2 separate regions of the Homo sapiens genome follow, and region 2 is linked to region 1. Evidence: promoter capture Hi-C in 16 types of primary human blood cells and fetal thymus (Javierre and others, 2016). All regions are on one chromosome and are shown on one strand. The core of a region is centred on a gene start or on the middle of the fragment in contact, and the rest is flanking DNA. Distances in the headings are between cores, read along the strand shown.

Region 1 (5,403 bases), core at 914-3,413:
GGTTCCTCTGTTGAGACATAATAGTACATCGAAATTCCCATTAGATTATTATATCCTTAAAAGTCAAAGATCATGTCATCCTCTTCTTTTTTTTTTTTTTTTTTTTTTGCAGTGGAGTCTTGCTCTGTCCCCCCAGCTCAAGTGCAGTGGCACGATCTTGGCTCACTGCAACCTCCGCCTCCCGGGTTCAAGCGATTCTCCTGCCTCAGCCTCCCAAATAGCTGGGATCACAGGCGCCTGCCACCACGCCCAGCTAATTTTTGTATTTGTAGTAGAGATGGGGCTTCACCATGTCAGCCAGGCTGGTCTTAAACTCCTAACCTCAGGTGATCCACCCACCTCGGCCTTCCAAAGTGCTGGGATTACAGGTGTGAGCCACAACGCCTGGCCAAGCCTGTTCATTTGAAACACCCCTTAATGACTATCAGATCATCTGAACAGTGTCCAAATAAATCTAATTGCTTTTGGGAAATATATCAGACTGGGCTGAGAAAAATCTCCCACTACCATAATCTGTACTTTATTTTCTCCTTACCAACATACTGAAACAGATAATTTTTTTTTTTTTAAATGAGGCCCAGAGTTTATTGGCCGAGGGGGATCTTGACTCCACATTCCCGGTCCTGAGCACTATGAACACAGGCTTGATTTCTCCCTGGGGTCCCTAGTTTTTCTCAGGTACTACTTCTCTTTGCTAGTTGAGACATGGTATGATCAGAATTCAAAGTACAACTGCAATAACACTAATATTAATACTAATAAAGTGACCGACTCGTAATGCAGCGGTTTTCAAAGACTTTTCCCAGTTATCACATCATTTGATTCTCACAAGATCCTAGTAAGATAGGAAGCGATTATTATTTCTTTGTCTTTTCTTTTCTTTTTGAGATAGAGTCTCACTCTGTTTCCCAGGCTGAAGTGCAGTGAGGCGATCTTGGCTAACTGCAGCCTCCACCTCCCGGGCTCAAGCAATCCTCCCACCTCAGCCTCCCGAGTTGCTGGGACTATAGGTGCACACCACCACACTCAGCTAACTTTTAATATTTTTTGTAGAGACGGCGTCTTGCCATGTTGCCCAGGCTGGTCTTGAACTCCTAGACTCAGGCGATCCGCCCTCCTTGGCCTCCCAAAGTGCGGAGATTACAGGCATGAGCCACCTCGCCTGGCTGAGATTATTTCTTGTCACAGAAAAGAAGGTGAGACTCAAAAGGGTTACACAGTCAAGGGCAGAGTTGAGACTTAAAGCCTGACCTTTGAGCCGGGATAATTGAAAACAAACCAACAAACAAACCCAACTGTTTGGAAATAGCAAAGGCAATACAGTGTAAAAATAAAAGTATATTTACCCAGACAAAATGCTTAGGTTTGCAGAATCACCAAGAAATTTGCCCACTGGAGTTCTAGGGACATCTGGACAGACGGTAAAGGAAGTGTCTCTCTCCAGGAGCAGGTTTAACATTTTCCTTTGATTAGACCTAAAACTGGGTCCTGAGCCAGAGCTTCCTTCCTCTCTTGTGGATGAGAAGAGTTCCGTAGACATGGTCTTCGAATTCTCACCAGGAGAAAAACAAAACCTAGCTAGGAGGAAAACGTCATCTAAATCGGTACATCACAGTTCCCTCAGCTTTCCTAAACTCCTCCACCCTTTCCAGCCAGGCGAATCAACACTGGAAGAGGGGCAACCCCGAAGGGTGATTCACAGCCTGGCTTAAGGTTAGAACCTGAATTCACCGACGAGAGGCAACCTTAGGACCTTAAAGATGGAATGAAGAGAGGATTTTGACTTGTTCCACGCCACACAGCTCGAGACTCCTGACTAGAAAGAACCCGGGTCTCGTAACTCGCGATAGTCCCCATTCGGCCCTCCCAACCTCTGTCTGTGGGGGCCCGACTGGACCCTAAGGGGGACAATGGGGTCTCCGTGATTCCGTGGCGGAGACGGCTGCGGACTTACCTCAAGCCTGGAGTCTGAGGCTTGCCTACAAGAGGAGAGAAAGTAGATAGGGATCGGACACAGGCGAAGACTTGAGCAGAATGAAAGGAAATCTAGGGGAAAGGAGGTAGTTAACTAGATTGCAGCTCTGCCTTCCGACTGGGTAGGCCAACGTCGGACTCAGAGTCTTCCCTGAGCAGAAGGCCAAAGTTACGGCCTCTGAGCAAGAATATCAACAGCCGCAGGCGTTGACCATTCAAACCTTCCGCCAGCCCAGTAACCTATCCCCGCTCGCCTCTAAGCTGCGTCAGCCAATCTCCGCGCGCGCGCCCAGGGCCTCATGGCCTATCGTTGGGCTCGCAGATCACCTGGGGGCGTGTGCTTGCTCTGGAAATGGTAAGACTTGCCCCGCCCCATAGCCAGAGCAGGATAGTGTTTGGCCCACCAGCGTTAGGCAGGCTGCGGGGTAAGCTCCGCCTCACGGGGAGCCTGGCGCATCATTGGCTCTCCCTCTCACCAATCTCCACACCCTTTCTGTTTTCCTCGTTCCCTCAGCCCCACGAACCCCGGGAGATTTAAACCGCGCCTTACTAGTGATGTCCATTCACTAGGGTAATACTAGGAGAGATTATTTTGGGTGGAGGGTGTTGTAAGCGTTTCATTTTCTTCGCTTCTTTCTCGTGCCGTTTTCGCGGACGTTTTCTTCTAAGTTTTGCTGGCCTTCCACGGGAGATGGAGCGTTTGCTGCCGGCGTGGCAAGTGTTGGGGCGAGACGGGTGTGTGTGTTTATGCTGAGAGGCATTAGCCCCTTCCAAGAGCTTTGTTTGGTGTTTCTTTTAGTGTGCAGCATCTCAGAGACTCTAGCTCACGTGGGTAAAAAGAAATTCCGTTGCAGGGAAAGTGGAGGAATTAAATCATCTTGGTATAATCCTTATCGCAATCCAGAGGACCTCAAAGATTGGTTATTAATGAAAATTTGAACATTGACGAGGTGATATTTATAAATTATTGGCCGGACGCGTTGGCCCACACCTGTAATCCCAGCACTTTGGGAGGCCGAGGCGGGCAGATTACATGAGGTCAGGGGTTCAAAACCAGCCTGGCCAACATGATGAAACCCCGTCTCTACTAAAAATACAAAATTTAGCCGGTTGTGGTGGCACACACCTGTAATCCCAGCTACTTGGGAGGCTGAGGCATGAGAACTGCTTGAACTCGGGAGACAGAGGTTGCGCCACTGCACTCCAGCCTGGGCATTAGAGTGAAACAAACAAAAAGACATTCCTAATGTTAGGGATTTGCTTTTAAATAATCCTGTGCTGGGGGAAGGTATTGATGATACAAGATTGACCCTGACTGTTGAGTGATGGGGGCAGGAGGGTCCATCATATCTGTGCTTCTCAAGGTTTAATTTGCACACTAACCACCTGAGGACCTGCTAAATGCAGATTCTGATTCGGGATGTCTGGGTTGCGGTTGCGGCCCAAGATTCTGCCCTTCTAACAAGCCCCCAGCTGATGGTGAGGTAGCTGGTCCTACGACCATACTTTGCGTGGTAAGGTATTACCCCATACTTCTTACTTCAATGTATATTTGAAAATTTCCATAATAAAAATGTTCAAAATAACCTTGGAAGCTCTTTAAGATGTAGGCTCCAAAAACGATAATTCGATAGGTCTAAAGTGGGGTCATTATCAAGGCCCCCAGGTGCTACCCATGCAGACGGCTTGCAGATCATGCTTTGAGAAACAAAAGTCAAAATGCAACTTGTGTCTGTTGTCAGGATCTTGGTGGTGGTAGTGGCTGAGAGGCACAGTGTAGCCAGCTGGTTTTTATCCTAATACCCTTTTCATCTGCAGAACCTGCTTCCCCAGAAAGGAGATGTGTGAAGATTCTTTGTCCTCTAGGATACAGACAGTGAGTGTAGGAGTTAGCACAGAACCTTGCTATGCCAGGTGAGTTTGAAAATCAGGCTGGGGATTAAGGGAGTGTGGGATGAGTTGTTATCTGCTTTGACGACTACAGTATAATCACACTTTGTGGGAAATTGTATACTTCCCTGCAGGTGGGAAGTAGAGACAAAGTTATTCTCTATTGGTGGCAAAAGCAGATAGATTATGGCAAGTGCACACCTGGCTACCAGTGCTTTCTGCACCAGGTCCTCAAGTAAGTGCAGTTGTGGGTGGTCACAACAAAGGTGTCAGCCAAGTGGCTTTAGTTCAATGTCAGGTGATGGAAATATACTAAAATCTGAGCACTCTGACAAAGTTGCAGCATTCCTAAAACAAATTCTCCAAAAATCTAGCCCCAAAAATAAGTTTCTGAGATTTCTCAAATGGAACTTATACACCTAGCTCTTAAGAGTATTTTTTTTTTTTTTAAGATGGAGTCTCGCTCTCTCCCGGGCTAGAGTACAGTGGCGCAATCTTGGCCCACTGCAACCTCTGCCTCCTGGGTTCAAGTTATTCTCCTGCCTCAGCCTCCCGAGTAGCTGGGACTACAGGTGCCCGCCACCACGCCTGGCTGATTTTTGTATTTTTAATAGAGGTGGGGTTTCACCATATTGTCCAGGCTGTTCTGGAACTCCTGACCTCAAATGATCCACCCACCTCGGCCTCCCAAAGTGCTGGGATTACAGGCATGAGCCACTGCGCCCGGCCGCCCTTAAGACTTTTTACAGATGCAGTGGTGCGCCTGTAGTCCCAGCTACTTGGGAGGATCACTTGAGCCCAGGAGTTTGAGGCCAGCCTGGGCAACATAGTGAGACTGTCTCCTAAAAACAACAACAAAAAAACTTTTTTTTTTTGAGACAGTTTCTTTCTTGTTGCCTAGGCTGGAGTGCAATGGCGCAATCTCAGCTCACTGCAACCTCTGTTCAAGTGATTCTCTTGCCTCAGCCTCCTGAGTAGCTGGGATTACAGGCATGCGCCACCACACCTGGCTAATTTTTGTATTTTTAGTTGAGACAGGGTTTCGCTGTGTTGGCCAGGCTGGTCTCAAACTCCTGACCTGAGGTAATCCACCCACCTCGGCCTCCCAAAGTGCTGGGATTACAGGTGTGAGCCACCATGCCCAGCCAACAAAACTCTTAAAAGCTCTACGTTTGTTAATGAGGTTGTTTTCCTAGCAAACATTTTCACTATCTCCTCATGATTCCAGCTGGCTTAGCTAATTGCAACATACTTAGCTAATTACATGTAAGTTTACATGCATACATACAAACTGTGAAATGGTAGAATTATTTTAAAGGGAAGTCAAATATTGTCTTTTATATCTTGATTTATGAGGGTGTTGGAATATATCTAAGTTATCCTTCCCAGAAGAAAGAATATTAGGGAGGTGGGAAGTTTGGTGTTTAATCTGATTTGAAGATTTACTTTTTCTGTTGGATTGAGGGCATTGATCCTATGTCATCCTTGGGGAATCCCTATCTAGGCTCCTGATTCACTGTGATAAGCAGTGAGCTGTGT
Region 2 (5,384 bases), core at 2,173-4,672, 1.0 Mb after region 1:
GGAAAATTAGTCTGTTTATACTACTTGTCAGTTGTGAACTTGAATAAAACTTTTTCACACACACACAAAATCACAGGATAGGTAACTTGACAAGAACTATAGAACCCACTTGTGTTTCTTTAAGGGATGGAGGTTAGGGAATGGAGATTTCCTCTAATGATTCAAGGCTGTGCACGTTGCTCCTTAGGAACTCAAATTGAGGTAGGTAATTTCACCCTCTTTTGGTCAGAATGAGTTTATAGCAGGCTTTTCCTTAAATAAGCACTCTGCACTTTATTCAGGTTTATCACTTTATGACTCTAGAGTGTGATGCTCCAGTTTTAGTGAAAAACTTGAACACTTAGCACAGCAATTTGGTTGATACTGTGGGAGATTAAAGAATGTGGAAGGCAAGACCTCTGCCCCCTTGTAATCTAATAACCTTTTGTGCTTTTAAAACATTTTCTTGTAATTTACATCCTATTGTCATTCATTATCATGAAACGTGAAATGGGCAGAGCAAGTTTTTTTTTTTTTTTTTTTTTGAGATGGAGTCTCACTCTGTCGCCAGGCTGGAGTGCTGGAGTGCAGTGGCGCAATTGGCTCACTGCAACCTCCGCCTCCCCGGGTTCAAGCGATTCTCCTGCCTCCGCCTCCCTAGTAGCTGGGACTACAGGCGCTTGCCACCACGCCGGCTAATTTTTTGTATTTTTAGTAGAGACAGGGTTTCACCGTGTTAGCCAGGATGGTCTCGATCTCCTGACTTTGTGATCCGCCCCCGTCGGCCTCCCAACAGAGCAAGTTTTATCTTGCCCATTTGGGAATTAAAGAAATAGAAGCCTGAAAGATTATTTTTATTTAGCAAATATTTATATAACAATAATGCCAGGCATTGTTCTCATTGCCTTTACAAATATTAACTAATTTGATCCACAACATAGCTAGAAGGTAGGCCCTACTGTAAAATGAAGATAACAAATGAGACGTGAAGTAACTTTCCCAATGTCACAGAGCTATGATAGTCGGAATTCAAATCCAGATAGTCCAGAGATTCTATGCTCTTAACCATTATGTGGTGCTGTGTGATTTAGTGACAGGTCTAGGGTACTTTAAGGTGGCTATGTAGCATAGCTGGGATTTGAACCTACGTCTTCTGACTGTGGTCTAAGATTAAAGTTGTCCAAGTCATTGCCTTTGTGATCTAGACCACCTGTTGCACAGGTGCATGAATAGTTTGCATTTGATATAGGCTAAGGTTCAGTTCCAAAAAACTCCCTTTTTTCTTAATTTTTTCATTGTTTAGAGTGGTGCTGTCCAATGATGTAGGTACTGTGTGTGGTTATGAGCACTTGAGATGTGGCTAGTGTAAATGAAGAACTAAATTTTAATTAAATAGATCTGTGTAGCCGATGGCCACCATATTGGATGGGCACACGTTTGGAGAATTTGAATAGCCTCTGCTTCTTATATCAGTTTGTATAAATTTGGGTGGCATTTCTAATGTACTTGAGCTTTTATCAGTTAGGATGACCCATTCTTGCTCTCACCTAATTACCCTTGTTACACTACAGTTGAGATTAGGGTAGACTTTGGGATTTTCTTGTGACATTGTTTCACCTCTGTAGATTTAAGATCTCTAATTTTTACCTTGTCCCTTGGTCTAGAGACCTTTAACTGCCCTAAATATTTAATCACCGAGATAGTTAATGCCAATTGTTATGTGCTAGGTTCTCTAACTAGGTACTATTATTAATTCCCATGCAACAGATGAGGAAACCGAGACTCAGGTTAAGTAACTTGCCATGGTCACACAGTTAGTAAAGCAGCCTGGTTCCAGAGCCCATGGGTTTTTGTTGTTGTTGTTGTTGTTGTTGTTTTTGAAACGGAGTCTTGCTCTGTTGCCCAGGCTGGAGTGCAGTGGCGCGATCTCGGCTCACTGCACGCTCCACCTCCAGGGTTCATGCCATTCTTCTGCCTCAGCCTCCTGAGTAGCTGCACCCGACACCACACCTGGCTACTTTTGTTTTTGTATTTTTAATAGAGACGGGGTTTCACCGTGTTAGCCAGGATGGTCTCGATCTCCTGACCTCGTGATCCAACGGCCTTGGCCTCCCAAAGTGCTGGGATTACAGGTGTGAGCCACCGCGCCCAGCCCAGAGCCCATGTTTTTTAATCGTTACCTTACTGTGCCAAATAGTAAAACAAAAAATTCGGTGCTTTTCACAGACTTCAGAGTGGAAAACAGACCAATTGAAAAATGTTGCGATCCTCTTTAACTGCCAAAGGAAGTATGCTTAAACGTATATATGCGTAAAATACGATTAAAAAATATGCAAATAAGGTAAGGATCACAGTGGTTCAAAACAGAGTCCAAGGGAATGAGAAAAGATGGTGCCTATGGAGGTAGATTAATGAAAGAAACAGAAGAGAACTATGCTTGAATTTTTTTTTTTTTTTTTTTGAAACGGAGTCTTGCTCTGTTGCCCAGGCCTGAGTGCAGTGGCATGATCTCATTTCACTGCAAGCTCCACCTCCCGGGTTCATGCCATTCTCTTGCCTCAGCCTCCTGAGTAGCTGGGACTACAGACGCTTGCCACCATGCCTGGCTAATTTTTTGTATTTTTAGGAGAGATGGGGTTTCACCGTGTTAGCCAGGATGGTCTCAATCTCCTGACCTTGTGATCCGCCCACCTCGGCCTCCCAAAGTGCTGGGATTACAGGCGTGAGCCACCGCACCAGGCCTATATTTGAATTTTAATGAGAATTCTTAAAAGATGAAACTAGTGGAGAAAGATTGTAAAACCTAAAAGATTTCTGTATTTTAAAATTCCATAGACAATATAAAAGGACACTGCTGGAAACCAATATGTCTAAGAGGCATTTCAGGAGGGGAAAAACAGCTGAAGACACAATAAAGCCCTAAGTTGATAAATTGAAAGGGTTTGCTGACTTCCAGGCAGTAGTACTGGGAAAAAATTGCTCTTACCTATCCAAAATCTGGTGAAATATATGAATTTGTTAAAACATCTTAAGCTGTCGTCTAGAACAGGATTTTTAAATTTTTATTTATTTTTTTGAGACGGAGATTTGCTCTGTCACCAGGCCGGAGTGCAGTGGCGCAATCTTGGCTCACTGCAACCTCCGCCTCCCAGGTTCCAGTGATTCTCCTGCCTCAGCCTCCCCAGTAGCTGGGACTACAAGCATGTGCCACCACGCCCAGCTAATGTTTGTATTTTTAGAGACGGGGTTTCACCATGTTGGCCAGGATGGTCTCAATCTCTTGACCTCATGATCCACCCCCTTGGCCTCCCAAAGTGTTGGGATTACAGGCGTGAGCCACCGCACCTGGCCTATTTTTATTTTTTGAGATGCAGTCTCCCTCTGATGCTCAGGTTGGAATGCAGTGGCACCATCTCAGCTCACTGCAACCTCTGCCTCCCAGGTTCAAGCAATTCTCCTGCCTCAGCCTCCCGAGTAGCTGGGACTACAAGCGTGCACCTCCATGTCCAGCTAATTTTTGCATTTTTAGAGACGGGGTTTCGCCCAAGTTGGCCAGGATGGCCTCAATCTCTTGACCTCGTGATCCACCCCCTTTGGCCTCCCAAAGTGCTGGGCGTGAGCTGCTGCGCCCAGCTTATTTTTATTTTTTGAGATGCAGTCTCAGTCTGTTGCTCAGGCTGGAATGCACCATCTCAGCTCACTGCAACCTCTGCCTCCCAGGTTCAAGCAGTGCTCCTGCCTCAGGCTCCCGAGTAGCTGGGACTACAGCTGTGCGCCACCATGCCTGGCTTAGTTTTTGTATTACTAGAGATGGGGTTTCACCATGTTGGCCAGGGCCGGTCTCAAACTCCTCACCTCAAGTGATCCACCTCCCTTGGCCTCCTAAAGTGCTAGGATTATAGGTGTGAGCCACTGCACCCAGCCTAGAACAGGATTTTTAAAAGGAAAGAAAATTGATTTTCTACAACATTGAAAGTTGGAATTATTGACAATAGATTATCAACAGGAAGCACAGACATCTCAGAATTCTGTTACAACTAATTTTTTTTTTAGCACATTTACATGGAAATACTCATGTTACAACTTTTTTTTTTTTTTTTTTTTTTTAAGACACAGTTCCGCTCTGTCGCCCAGGCTGGAGTGCAGTGGCGCGATCTTGGCTCACTGCTACCTCCACCTCCCGAGTTCAAGCGATTCTCCTGCCTCAGCCTCCTGAGTAGCTGACACTACAGGCGCCCACCACCATGCCCGGCTAATTTTTGTATTTTTGGTAGAGGCAAGGTTTCACCATATTGGCCGGGCTTTTCTAGAACTCCTGACCTCAAATGATCCACCCACCTTGGCCTCCCAAAGTGGTGGGATTACAGGCCTGAGCCACCACGCCAGGCCATACAACATTTTTATTCAAACATGAAGGCAAAAGATGTTTTGTAGCATTAGGAGATACACCTAATGCTAAATGACGAGTTAATGGGTGCAGCACACCAGCATGGCACATGTATACATATGTAACTAACCTGCACATTGTGCACATGTACCCTAAAACTTAAAGTATAATAATAATTTTTAAAAAACTGTGGTACATCCATAAAAAAAAAAAAGATGTTTTGGACACTGGCTTAGAATGATAAATCCTCAGGTAGCCTTTTGAACTATTTTACAAAGATAGGAAGTTAGGGGAAGATGATGAATATAAGAAACAACTCGGCCAGTGTGGTGGCTCATATCTGTAATCCCAGCACTTCGGGAGGCCGAGGTGGGCGGATCACCTGAGTTCAGGAGTTCTAGACGAGCCTGGCCAACATAGTGAAACCCCATCTCTACTAAAAATACAGAAATTAGCCAGGCACAGGCATGGTGTTACACACTTGTAATTCCAGCTACTCAGGAGGCAGAGGTTGCAGTGACCCGAGATCGTGCAGCTGCACTTTAGCCTGGGCAACAGAGTGAGACTCCATGTCAAAAAAAAAAAAAAAAAAACTACGAGTGATGAATTTATTTATTTATTTATTTATATTTTTTGAGACAGGGTCTTGCTGTGTCACCCAGGCTGGGGTGCAGTGGCGTGATCTTGGCTCACTGCAGCCTCTGCCTCCCAGGCTCGAGCAATTCTCCTGCTTCAGCCTTCTGAGTAGCTGGGACAACAGGGGACCACCACCAAGCCTGGCTAATTTTTTTTTTTTTTTTTGAGACGGAGTCTCACTCTGTCGCCCAAGTTGGAGTGCAGTGGCGTAGTCTCAGCTGACTGCAAGCTCTGCCTCCCGGGTTCACGCCAATTTCCTGCCTCGGCCTCCTGAGTAGCTGGGACTACAGGTGCCTGCCACCATACTTGGCTAATTTTTTTTTGTATTTTTAGTAGAGATGGGGTTTCACCGTGTTAGCCAAGATGGTCTAGATCTCCTGAC

What was found. The method cuts DNA at HindIII sites, captures the fragments that hold promoters and counts their contacts. A CHiCAGO score of 5 or more calls a contact.
Region 2: a fragment that was not itself captured here is called in contact with the fragment with the promoter of CDC25C in region 1 in 1 of 17 cell types (monocytes); the score reaches 5.3 in monocytes.

What each region holds. Positions count from the first base shown.
Region 1 is chr5:138,329,641-138,335,043 of GRCh38, forward strand. CDC25C (cell division cycle 25C) reads right to left here and starts at 2,164. Exons shown (of 14, transcript NM_001790.5): 1 at 1,955-2,164; 2 at 1,347-1,578; 3 at 1-7. The coding sequence starts at 1,540. It overlaps LOC100128966 (a long non-coding RNA gene), which reads left to right and starts at 2,465. Exons shown (of 4, transcript NR_146628.1): 1 at 2,465-2,545; 2 at 3,793-3,888. RefSeq lists enhancers at 1,322-2,275, 1,987-2,116, 2,127-2,176 and a silencer at 2,227-2,486. The HindIII fragment of the contact is 22,786 bases long and covers 1-5,403 here.
Region 2 is chr5:139,343,206-139,348,589 of GRCh38, forward strand. The region is part of intron 1 of PAIP2 (poly(A) binding protein interacting protein 2); the gene reads left to right. Among named protein-coding and RNA genes, the nearest start is that of PAIP2, 4.0 kb to the left of the region's middle. The HindIII fragment of the contact is 8,536 bases long and covers 1-5,384 here.